2 separate regions of the Homo sapiens genome follow, and region 1 is linked to region 2. Evidence: promoter capture Hi-C in human tissues and cell types (Jung and others, 2019). All regions are on one chromosome and are shown on one strand. Each heading gives the region's core, a stretch centred on a gene start or on the middle of the fragment in contact. The rest is flanking DNA. Distances are from core to core; before and after follow the strand shown.

Region 1 (5,882 bases), core at 2,706-5,205, 180 kb after region 2:
GACAGGGTCTCACCCATGTTGCCCAGGCTGGTCTGGAACTCCTGAGCTCAAGCAATCTGCCTGCCTCAGCCTCCCAAAGTGTAGGAATTACAGGTGTAAGCCCCCCCTCCTGGATGACTTTTTAATTTTAAAAATTGTGTCAGGACTTAAGTAGTTCAAAGTGGGAAAGTGCTATATTTCTAAAACAATATGAAACCTAGAATAGATTTCATTGATTTCTAAAAATGCAAGTAACATCTTAAAGGCACATGCATTTTTCCCTCAGTCACCTACTGAGTGCATTAAAATATTAAGATGTCAAAAAGTACATAAAATACAACATCATAACGTATATAGGAATAGACTCAAATACTTTCTGGTTAATTAAAATCAGGCTGAAAATTTTATTAGTTATAGGAAGAAATAGCAGTTGGAAAAGAAAATGTTTTCTAGTTGGTTCTTAAAGAATCTGAATTGAAAGTATTCCAATAGTTCTATGTAAAAAAATAACTTGTGGGTATTTTAGTAATATGTTTGTTCTTAGAATAGAACAGATGGCAGAACAAAATAAAATGTAATTTCCAGATGTATCATGTTGTAAATTCAGTGCCATGAACTGGGCATTATTAACTGAGTATCAAGTTTAAACATAGCCAGCACTGTAGCACTTTTGGAGTAAATTTTAACTAAATGATTAACCTTTGAAACATCATTTAAGGTTTATTATCTTGGGTAGGTATCCCAAAAAGTGGATATTGTAGTAGCTGTTCAAATCTTCTATTTTTAGATAGTCTGCTGCTGCTGTGTGAGCTCTTCCTAGTCTGCAAGGATCCCCAGAACAGAGTGAGGGGGAGCCCACAGTGGACCATTTGCACCCATCCCTCTTTGAAATCATTACAAAACAGCTGCTGTGTATGGTCCTTATTCAAGGAGTGAACTGTTCCCACCATGTCCTATTTCTTTGCTGATTTTACGGTTTCAAAGAATTTAAAAGTAGCTGCTTTTTACCAAGAGGTTGGGGACCCCTAAACTTGGCAATCCCAATTCAGATAATGTAAAAACAAATCAAAAGCTATCACTTCAGTTACCTGGTAGACATTTCCTTCTTTCAGGTCCATGTTCTAAGCATTATGAATGATGAGAGATTTCTTAAGTTTTGATTTATCCGAGTCAAGTATCTGTATTAGATTGAAGAATCACATTTGTTACAAATTAACTGCATAGACTTACAGTCGCTCTAGGGTAGATATTCTGTTTATTAATTAGTATGGTTCTAAATGATCTTAGGGAAATCATTTAAATCCTTATTTAGGGGTTTTAAGGGTCTAGCATATGATAAGTAGTGCCAGATTAATTTTTTTTTTACCTGCTTCTTAGAAGAACTGGATTGGCCATAGTGCACAGTATCGGAATGATGCTTCTTTGAAGTTTTGGAAGACTCTGGACATAATTTTCTTTTAGACCTGTGGGCTATTTTGCTTACTATCAACCTGTGGTCACTTGTACCAACTTCTTTAGCTTGATTTTCTGATTGCTGCTGTAGCAGTCGTGGATCTTCGGTTTCTCCATCTGATTCAAAAATGTGTGGCTGTCTTTTCAGTTTTAGTGACCCATGGCTTTTCCCTAAAATTTGTGTTATACCTTTGCCTGTTAAATTTTCTTTTCCTTTCATTTGGAAGTCAACAGCACTTTTTACCACCCCTAAATTGTTATTTGACACCACAAATACTGCACTATTAGATAGTTGCTTATTTTTGTTTAAACTCACAGTCGATTTTCCACGAGAAGAGGGAAATTTTGTCATATTTTCAGAAGACTCTGTATTTTTTTCTTGCAGAGGTCTGGAATTCTCCTGATTTAAATTGTTAGCAGCCTGCATCTGAATGTTACTACTATAACGGTTTTTTATAGCTGGACCTAAATTCAGTTTGTCATGCTGGATCATACTAGTTTTGAGTGAAAACAATTTAGATTGTGTCACATCATGCTGTTTTCTTTTTGGGCTGCCAAGTACTGAGGTATTTTTGTTCATTTGTAACAATCTATTTTTGAAAACTGGTACAAACTTAGGGGTGATGTTGCTTTGGGAGCTAAGATTTGTGTGCTGAACTTGAGTATTTCCTCTGTTGGGCATTAATACTTCTGAATGTACTTGTGGAGCCCTGATAGACAGGGATTTCTTTCTACCCTGAACAGACTCTGGCTGGAGATGCAAAGCTGAGAAAATGCCTGATGTTGGCTGGCTGACTGAAAGCTCCACCTTGTGGTCCACTGCTACTGAACATGGTAGAAGACTTTGAGCACAGGCAGGCTTTCTGGAAGTGGCTTGAGTCAGAGATGCCCTAAGCATTTTTTTAGTGGTCAAATTGGGTGGCTTGACTTTGTGTTCCTGAAAAGGATAGAGATTAAAAAAAAATTTAAAATGTTAATAATGTCCTTAATGGAAAAGAAATAAAATATAAAGTATCATCCAAATAAGAATATAAAGCAACACTATGATTTACAGAACAGGTAAAGAAAAACAAAATAAAAATGAGCCTTCTGGTGGAAATGAGTACATTTCTTATGGTTTGTATCCTCCTTTAGATACTATCCAAGATACTATCTTAAGATAAAGGTATATACTACATTTCATATAAATCTACCATAAAAACCATTCACACAGCTACCCACTGTCCTCCAAACATGCTCATGCTGCTGCCTTGCTCACTGAGCAAGGTATGACCTCCTTCAGATACTCAAAGTCCCACCTTCTCCCACCCATCAATCTACCACAGAGCGACTGTTTTTCTGTCAACTCTCCAAGGATCTGCTATCAATTAAATAATATTTGTCACAAAAAAATATTACAAGGTAAGCTCTCTTATCTTTTAGTGCACATATTCCATCTTCCTAAGTAGGTACCAGATTCTTGGAGGGTAAGAACCATGACTTATTTACTCTTATATCCTTCACAGTTACTAAAAATCCTTGTTGAAAGAAATTAATGAAGAGGTGGCTGCATCTATACTGGGCCTTTAGGAATAAGTGGGATTTTGACTACAGGGAAGGCGCTATCTGTGTCTTAATCATGTTTACTTTTTCACTGCCTACCACAGTGCCTGGTACGTGGTAGCAATTCAGCAAGTATTTGTCAAAGAAATTTGTCAGATACATTAAAAAGAGCCAAGCGTTTACAGTCTTTTAAAGATGAACTGTGGATACACACACACATACACATAAATAATATAAAATTTACCATTTTAACCATTTTTAAGTGAACGATTCAGTGACTTTAAGTACATTTACCACTGTACTGTATTATATAACCATCAATACTATTTCCAAAAATTTTTTTTCATTCCAAACAGAAACTTTGTACTCTGTAAATAGTAATTTCCTGTTTCCTCTTCCTTCTAGCCCCTGGTAACCTCTATTTTACTTTCTATTCTATGAATTTGCCCATTCTAGGTACCACATGTAAGTGGAATCATACAATATTTGTCTTTTTGTGTCTGGCTTATTTCATTTAGCATAATGTTTTCAGGGTTCATTTATATTGCAACATGAGTCAGGATTTATTCCTTTTAATGACTGACTATTCCACTGTACTTATATAGCATATTTTATCCACTCATCTCTTGGTGGAAGTATTGTCTTTTAAAGTACATATCTTGTCCTGTTGTCTGTAAAAGAGTGATAGGTAGCAATAACCTGAAACACTGAACACCAAGTTCTTTTCTCACTTTCCCCATCAAAACACAGGTTCACAGCTTGAAATAAACATTTTAAAACTGCTAGGAATAATATGCAAACTTGAATGACTGGTTTTTCTCTCCACTACTGGAGGTTCCATTGTTGAATTAGGTTGAGAAGAGAATAGGAAAGATTTTGGGAAATCAGAGTTGGAAATAGGCACAAGTAAGAGACTAATCCAATTATCTATTAGGCATAAACAAATCACACCAACATTTAGTTGCTTAAAACCAATAATAATTATGTTATCATCTCTCACTATTCTGGGGGTTGGCTTGGCTTAGTTTGGCATCTCTCATGCTGTGTGGTTAGATACTCTGCAGCTGGAGTCACCTTGGAGTCACTTCCTCTTTCACATGTGATGCGTGATGCTGGCTGTTGGCTGGAATGCTGACAGGCAGTCTCTTCCTGTGCTGGGGATCTCTCACAGATTGGGTTCCAAGAACAAATGTCCCCAGAAAGACCAGGTGGAAGCTGTTTCTCCTAAAGACCTAGCCTCAGGGTATGTTGCATCACTCTGTCATAGGGACATCCAGACTCAAGAGAACGAGACCCATACCTCAATGGGAGGAGTATTGTCCCATGACCAAAATGATGTGGAGAAGGAAATTCCAGGAAACTTAGTTCCATAATACTTAAGTTGACATAATAGAAAGTCATTATAGAGGACAATACTCCTCCTTCCATGTTGACTATTCTTGGGAAAAACGGAAAGTCCCCAAGAAAATATTGAGTGAGATTTGGGGGCGATGCTGAAAATAGGTGATTGGGATTCATTTCTTATCTGGAGATTACTTCAGTTGGAGGCTTACCCATGCCACCAGGGCAAGAAGACACACCGTCTTAGTTTCTTTTGGCTGCTATAACAAAGTAGGTAGTTTATAAGCAACAGTTTTGGAGGCTGGGAAGTCCAAGATCAAGGCAAATCTCTCTTGGGCCTTTTAAATAAGAGCACTAATCCTGTTTAGCACAGCTCTACCCCTATGACCTAATCACCTCCCAAAGACCCTACCTCCTAATATCATCACCTTGGGAGTTAGGGTTTCAACATTTAAATTTTGGAGAAACACATTCAGAGCATAGCACATCCTTCTTAATTTGCCCATTATTTTCAAGGGGTGCAAAGAAAACCCAGCTAAGTTTCATGACCCTGAATGAAGAAATACAGAAGTTAACCAAGGAAGAATTACTGGCTTACTGCCCCTTGACATTGCTCAGCTGAGTGAAAAAGCATGCATCAAGAAGGGGTTTGTATTAGAACAGAAACATATTATCTCAGTTTTAGAGCCTTGAAGTCTGAAACCAAGGTGTTGGCAGGGCTGGTTCCTTCAGAGGGCCAGGAGGAAAGGATCTGTTCCGGGCCTGTTTCCTCGGCTTGTAGATGACCATCTCCACCTTCACATGGTGTTCTTCCTCTATGTGTGTCTGTATCCAATTGCCCCTTTTCATAAGAACACTAGTCATATTGGATTAAGGGCCCACCCTACTACAGTATAACTTCATTTTAACTAACTATATCTGCAGTGACCCTATGTCAAATAAGGTCACATCCTAAGGAACTGGGGGTTAGGATTTCAGTGTATGTATCTGAGGGGTACACAATTCAACCTGTAACAGGGTTGGATATACACTTCTGGAGAGAACAGAGAGAGGAGGGAGCTGTTTTTCTGAAGACTCCCTGTACAAGGGAGCTAGGGTAAAGCTAAAAAGTAACTGATAAAACCTCATATACTATCTCTGTTGAGATACCATATGAGCAGAGACCACCACCATTAAATCAACCCAGGTCAAGAAGTGAAGGTGTGAAGGCCTCCTACCCCCACACCCCACAGCCAATCTCTATGCTGTGACTGCAATGGATAGGATGGACTGGTGTTCAACCTCCATTCCACCCTCCTCCTTGTGCTCCTATACAGACTAAAGCCTGGAAATCTAAAATTTATATTTCATCTTTTGCAGCTAGGGTTTGGATGTGATTTAGAACCAGCCAATCAGATGCACTCATAAAATATTTGGAAGTAGAAGTAAGGTCTAGCCACACTTCTGTTTTTGCAGAAACGCTTAACTATGAATGCCTTTGATTTTCAGTTACAGAGTTAGCAGCTTAAGTGTAGGGGAGCAGAATGTAGGGCACCATTCTCTTGCTATAGAGGAGTAGTCCTCAATCA
Region 2 (5,532 bases), core at 2,109-4,608:
GCTTTATGTGGAAAGAAACAAGGAGTGTGGACAAAGTGTAGTGATATATGACCTGGTTCATTCCCCCCAGAGGAGCTTCCTGGTCCCAGAGTCCATATCCCAGGTACCACTCTTTGCCCGGAGTGACTGGGCCTGGGCACTAGAGCACAGAGGAGGCACATCACACATGCTCACTGCATGTGCCCCATCCAAAGGGTGAGTGCCCACAGCACAGAGCCCCCTCTGCATCCTGTGGTCCAGCTCCCCAAACCTCATCCAGTCCCCCTGGGCCACAGCCAGGGATCCACCCTAGCTGTTGATGGGCATTTGATCTGTGTCACAGTAAAAGAAAGAGTTTGCCCAATCTTGGGCTCAAGATCCCAAGAATAGAATTGATGACTTTCTTTTCTCTCTCAGTATTAGAAAAAGGTGATGGTAATAAGTCAGCAATAGCGACAAAAACAAGCAATGGAAAAGGACTCCCTATTCAATAAATGATGCTCGGATAACTGGCTAGCCATTAGCCATATGCAGAAGATTGAAACTGGACCCCTTCCTTACATCATATACAAAAATCAACTCAAGATGGATTAAGGACTTAAACATAAAACCCCAGACTCTAAAAACCCTGGAAGACAACCTAGGCAATACCATCCTGGACATAGGAACAGGCAAAGATTTCATGACAGAGACACCAAAAGCAATTGCAACAAAAGCAAAAATTGACAAATAGAATCTAATTAAACTTAAGAGCTTCTGCACAGTAAAAGAAACTATCAACAGAGTAAACGGACAACCTACAGAATAGGAGAAAATATTTGCAAACTATGCATCTGACCAAGATCTAATATCCAGTATCGAGGAACTTCAACAAATTTACAAGAAAAAACAAACAATCCCATTAAAAACTGGGCAAAGGACATGAACAGACACTTTTCAAAAGAAGATATACATGTGGCCAACAAGCATATGAAAAAAAGCTCAGTATCACTGATCATTAGAGAAATGCAAATCAAAACCACAATGAGATACCATCTCACATCAAACAACTGTATTAAAAAGTCAAAAAATAACAGATGCAAGTGAGGTTGCAGAGAAAAGGGAAAACTTATACGTTGTTGGTAGGAGTGTAAATTAGTTCAATTATTGTGGAAAGCAGTGTGGCAATTCCTCAAACAGCTAAAAACAGAACTACCGTTTGACCCAATAATCCCATTACTGGGTTATATGCTCAGAGGAATATAAATCATTCTACTATAAAGACACATGAATGTGAATGTTAACTGCAGCACTATTCACAATAGCAAAGACATGGAATCAACCTAAATGTCCATCAATGACAGACTGGGTAAAGAAAATGTGGTACATCTACACCATGGTGAATACTATGCAGCCATAAAAAAGAATGAGATCATGTCCTTTGCAGGAATATGGATGGAGCTGGAGGCCATCATCCTTAGCAAACTAATGCAGGAACAGAAAACCAGACACTGCATGTTCTCATTTGTAAGTGGGAGCTAAATGATGAGAACACATGGACACATAGAGGAGAACAACACACACTGGGGCCTATGGGTGGAGGACGGGAGGAGGGAGAGGATCAGCAAAAATAACTAATGAGTACTAGGCTTAATACCTGGGTGATTAAATAATCTGTACAACAAATCACCATGACACAAATTTACCTATGTAAGAAACCTGCACATGTACTGCTAAACCAAAAATAAAAGTTAAAAAAAAGTAAAAGAATAGCAAAGGGGAAAATATATAGTACAATCTCTTCCTCTCTTTCATATCAAAGGGTATTATATTGAGTCCAAAACAAAATATTTCCTTCTTTTTTGTTTCAGACAGGGTCTTACTCTGCCTCCCAGGCTGGAGTGCAGTGGCGCAACCATGGCTCACTGCAGCCTCGACCTCCCAGGTTCAAGCCATCCTCCCACCTTGGTCTCCTGAGTAGCTGAGACCACAGGCATGCTCCACCCTGCCTGGCTACTTTTAAAATTGTTTGTAGAGTCAGGGTCTCACTATGTTGCCCAGGCCAGTCTTGAACTCCTGGGCTCAGGTGATCCTCCTGCTTTGGCCTCCTAAAGTGTTGGGATTGCAGACATAAGCCACCATGCCCAGCCAGGGAAATTATTTTCTTTCATGTTGCTTTTAACTTTAATGTTTTGAATAGATACTATCATGACACAGTTTAAAGATTTTTTAAAGTAAGACAGTATTCAGTGAAATGTCCTCTTCTAACCCCCACCCCAATGCCCTGGCCAGTCATGGGTTCTTTAAAAAAAAAAAAAAGTCAGCAATGGAAAGCATGGCCAGACCACAGGGTGAGGTTCTTTCTCTCAGAGCAGTGATTTTGCAGCATGGTGTGGGAATCTCATGGTCTTGCAGGTGGGCAAAGCCCACTTCTAGAATCCGGCTGTGGTCAGGTCACCACCTGCCTGCTCACTGTGTCTCCAGCCTCGCATTTGCATGTATTTGTTTCAGTATGTCTTTTGAGAGTCTTCTACGTATCAACCTTCCACAAAATTCTGAAAATTTCTGTGTGTGTATGTGTGTGTTTGCAATGGAAATAAAAAGCGTCCATGAATTTTATCTTTCCAAGTAGTCTGGAACACAACCCCACAAAACCTCACAGCCAAAGGTACCTGCCTGCTTGTTTTCCTAGAGAGAAGCCTTCCCGCCACACCCACACTCAGGTTTGCACCTGAACCATGGAAACCTCGCCGAGAAAGGCCTGGGGTGATTTAGCCCGGTGATTAGCTCTTGCAAACTAGCCCTTAAGTCGGGAACCTGGGACCAGGACAAACAGCACACTGTCTGTTACCATTATTTAGGCAAATTCTTCCAGGAAGCAAACTCATTTTTTTTAAAGAGAAAAAGTACAGAAAAAAATTGATTTAAGAAGACTGAGTTCATGAACAATTTGAATATGAACTACTTGACAATAATGCCATTTAATTATTGTTAAGAACACACAACTACCCAAAAGCATTACTGATAAAATATAATTCCAAATACCACATTCCTCGGCCAAGACAGCACCTAAGAACACCATGAGGAGCAGCATCTGGGGCCACGCTGGGTGCCTGCCCTGCCCAACTGGGCTTAACGCACATGCTCCCGGGACAAATGGAATTCTGGCACCCAATGCACGGACTCTGATGGAGGAGGTCCTACTCACCATTCTCCCGAGTTTGGGATCCATTAGGCTGGAGTTCTGAAGCCTCTAGCAACTTTCCCAACCTCCAAAAAATGTGGCAGAGGGAGTCCCATGAAAGCCCCAAGAGGGTGACATTAAATATCTCTCTGTGCCCTGACCCACGTTGTCCCCCGGAAGGAAGACGAGGCTGGTATAGTGGAGCTATTCACATCTGGAGAACAAAGCGGCTTCGGAGGTATTCATTCAGCTCAACTGCAGAGGAAGAGACAATGCATCTCATACGCGCAGATACGGGATGAGGCAGTGGCCCCAAAGTCATGTGATGTCACTGGAAGCCAGCAGCCTGGCCCAGCCTGCGACTCCTCGGGTTCTTCTTTGGGGGCACTTGTGTGTCATCTCTGAGAGGGAGTAGGGCCCCGGCCAGCAGGCAGAGCTGAGCCAGCGGCACAGCCCCCTCAGGTGACAGCCCCCTCACATGACAGGCCCCCACACACTGTGGCTGTGGGCCCTTGTGATGGAATGTTACGGCCGAGGATTAGCTTCCTAGGGCTGTGCAGGGGCCGAGGGTAGAGTTTTCCCAGCTCTCTGAAGGTTCGCTGCAAAATCAGCTTGCAAAGGGCAGTTGAATTGGAGAAGAGGCATAACAGATTGATTTGCTCCTAGTTTTAAGTGACATGGGAGCCTTCAGAAGGAAGGACCAATCCCTAATGGGGTTGGGAAGCTGAGACACCCTCTTGAGGTTCCACAAGGAGTGGCGGCTTAGATTCTCGCGCAACAGGTTATGGGAGGAGAAAAGAGGACTTCAGCTGAGGGCAATCAGCGCTCACGAGGGAGGATTCAGTGGGCTTGAAGAGCACGCCACGGTCTTCGTTCAAGTCTGCTGGGCCCCGGAGCAGACAATGGTCTTGACAAGTCTGTCCAGCGTGTTCGGTGTCAGCCTTCCTTCCTGAGATATGGGTTCAGTTAACGAAAACTCAGGGAAGGGACTAGAGGTCATTCCTTTCTTCTTTGGTGGGTCAGACTTGAAGGAGATAAGGACACTTCAGGAACTCTGGGAGAGATGGTGGGGGTGGGGGAGCCGAGAGGCCTTGAAGTTCCTTTTCAGTTCAGCTTGAACAAAGCACCATATTTTGGGGTATTGGCTTCTGAGCCCCAACATCTGCTCTAACAAAAGTACCCTACACTGGGTGGCTTAAGCAACAGAAATCGGTCTCAATTCTGGAGACTGGAAGTCTGAGATGAAGGTATGGGCAGGGCAGGTTTCTCCTGAGGCTGAGCGGGAAGGGCGTGCTCCAGGCCTTGACCCGCGTGGCTGCTGGCCGTCCTTGGTGTCCCTTGTCTTGTACAAGCATCACCCGATCTCTGCCCTCATCTTCTTATGATGTTCTCCCTGTGTATGTGTGTGTGTCCAGATTGTCCCTTCTCATAAGGACACAGTTGTGTGTAATCAGGGGTCCATCCTATGCCCATGTGACCTTATCTAAAGATAAGTAATTCAATCTGCAATGACCCTATCTCCATAGAAGGTCACATTCTGAGGTCTTGGGGGTTAGGATGTCAACATATAAATTTTGGTGGGAAGGTCAGGGGACAGTAGAGAAAAGGAGGCAGCAGGGCACAGGCCAGAGCCTTGGGTTGAGGGGTCCCGGGGCTTTTCTGGGGGACTGGGATTCTTTTGCATCATTTCTCTCTGAATAACTCTTGCAGGGATTGGCACACTGGAGACTTACTCTAACTGTTTGCTGAATGAAAGGACAAATAATCAAATAATTTTTACCAACAAAGAAATCTCTGGAAAGGCAGAGTTGGAACTCATTATCCCTGCTAGTTAAGGCTAGCTGTGGCTATCAGGGCCGGGCCCCTCTCCCTTGCAGAGGGGCAGCGTCTCCACCAGCTGCGTCTCTGCACCTCCTCCCCATCCTCACACCCTTTCCCTGACACTTGCCAGGCCGGGCTCCTTGAGCTCCAGGCCCAGCACAGCAGCTCCCAGGAAGTGGGCCTGGCCCTTCTTCCGAAGGCCAAGTTGCTGGGATCATACTCAGAATTCCGAGGGCTGGAAAGGAAGGAGAGGGTGAGGCTGGGCCCAGGTGTGGGCTGTGATCCTAGGAGGGTGGGGGCCCTGCTGCCTGCAGTCATCAGTGGAAAACCTTGCCCCTACCCAGCCAAAGTCACCTCTGGCAAGAGCATAGCGCACGGGCGAGCCCAGGGCTTCAAAAGCCCATGTAATTCAGATCAGAGAATTCCTCTTTCTCAGCCTCTGTCAAATGCACTTTACTCTTTCCTTGCAGAAAATATGTGAGATATGAGTGTTCCTCACAATAATTTTTTTTCTAGAAAAGAGGAAAACAGAGCTGGCTCAAATATTTTGTTAGAATCCCAGCACTTTG

What was found. Contacts are between HindIII fragments. The study calls those that stand out against the background at their distance.
Region 1: a contact is called between a fragment that was not itself captured here and the fragment with the promoter of CNDP1 in region 2, in 1 of the 25 tissues and cell types used here (heart left ventricle).

What each region holds. Positions count from the first base shown.
Region 1 is chr18:74,349,732-74,355,613 of GRCh38, reverse strand. It overlaps C18orf63 (chromosome 18 open reading frame 63), which reads right to left. Exons shown (of 14, transcript NM_001174123.2): 12 at 1,346-2,368; 13 at 1,068-1,157. The coding sequence ends at 1,101. Among named protein-coding and RNA genes, the nearest start is that of C18orf63, 37 kb to the right of the region's middle. The HindIII fragment of the contact is 6,259 bases long and covers 826-5,882 here.
Region 2 is chr18:74,532,326-74,537,857 of GRCh38, reverse strand. CNDP1 (carnosine dipeptidase 1) reads right to left here and starts at 3,358. Exons shown (of 12, transcript NM_032649.6): 1 at 3,167-3,358. The coding sequence starts at 3,190. The HindIII fragment of the contact is 24,351 bases long and covers 1-5,532 here.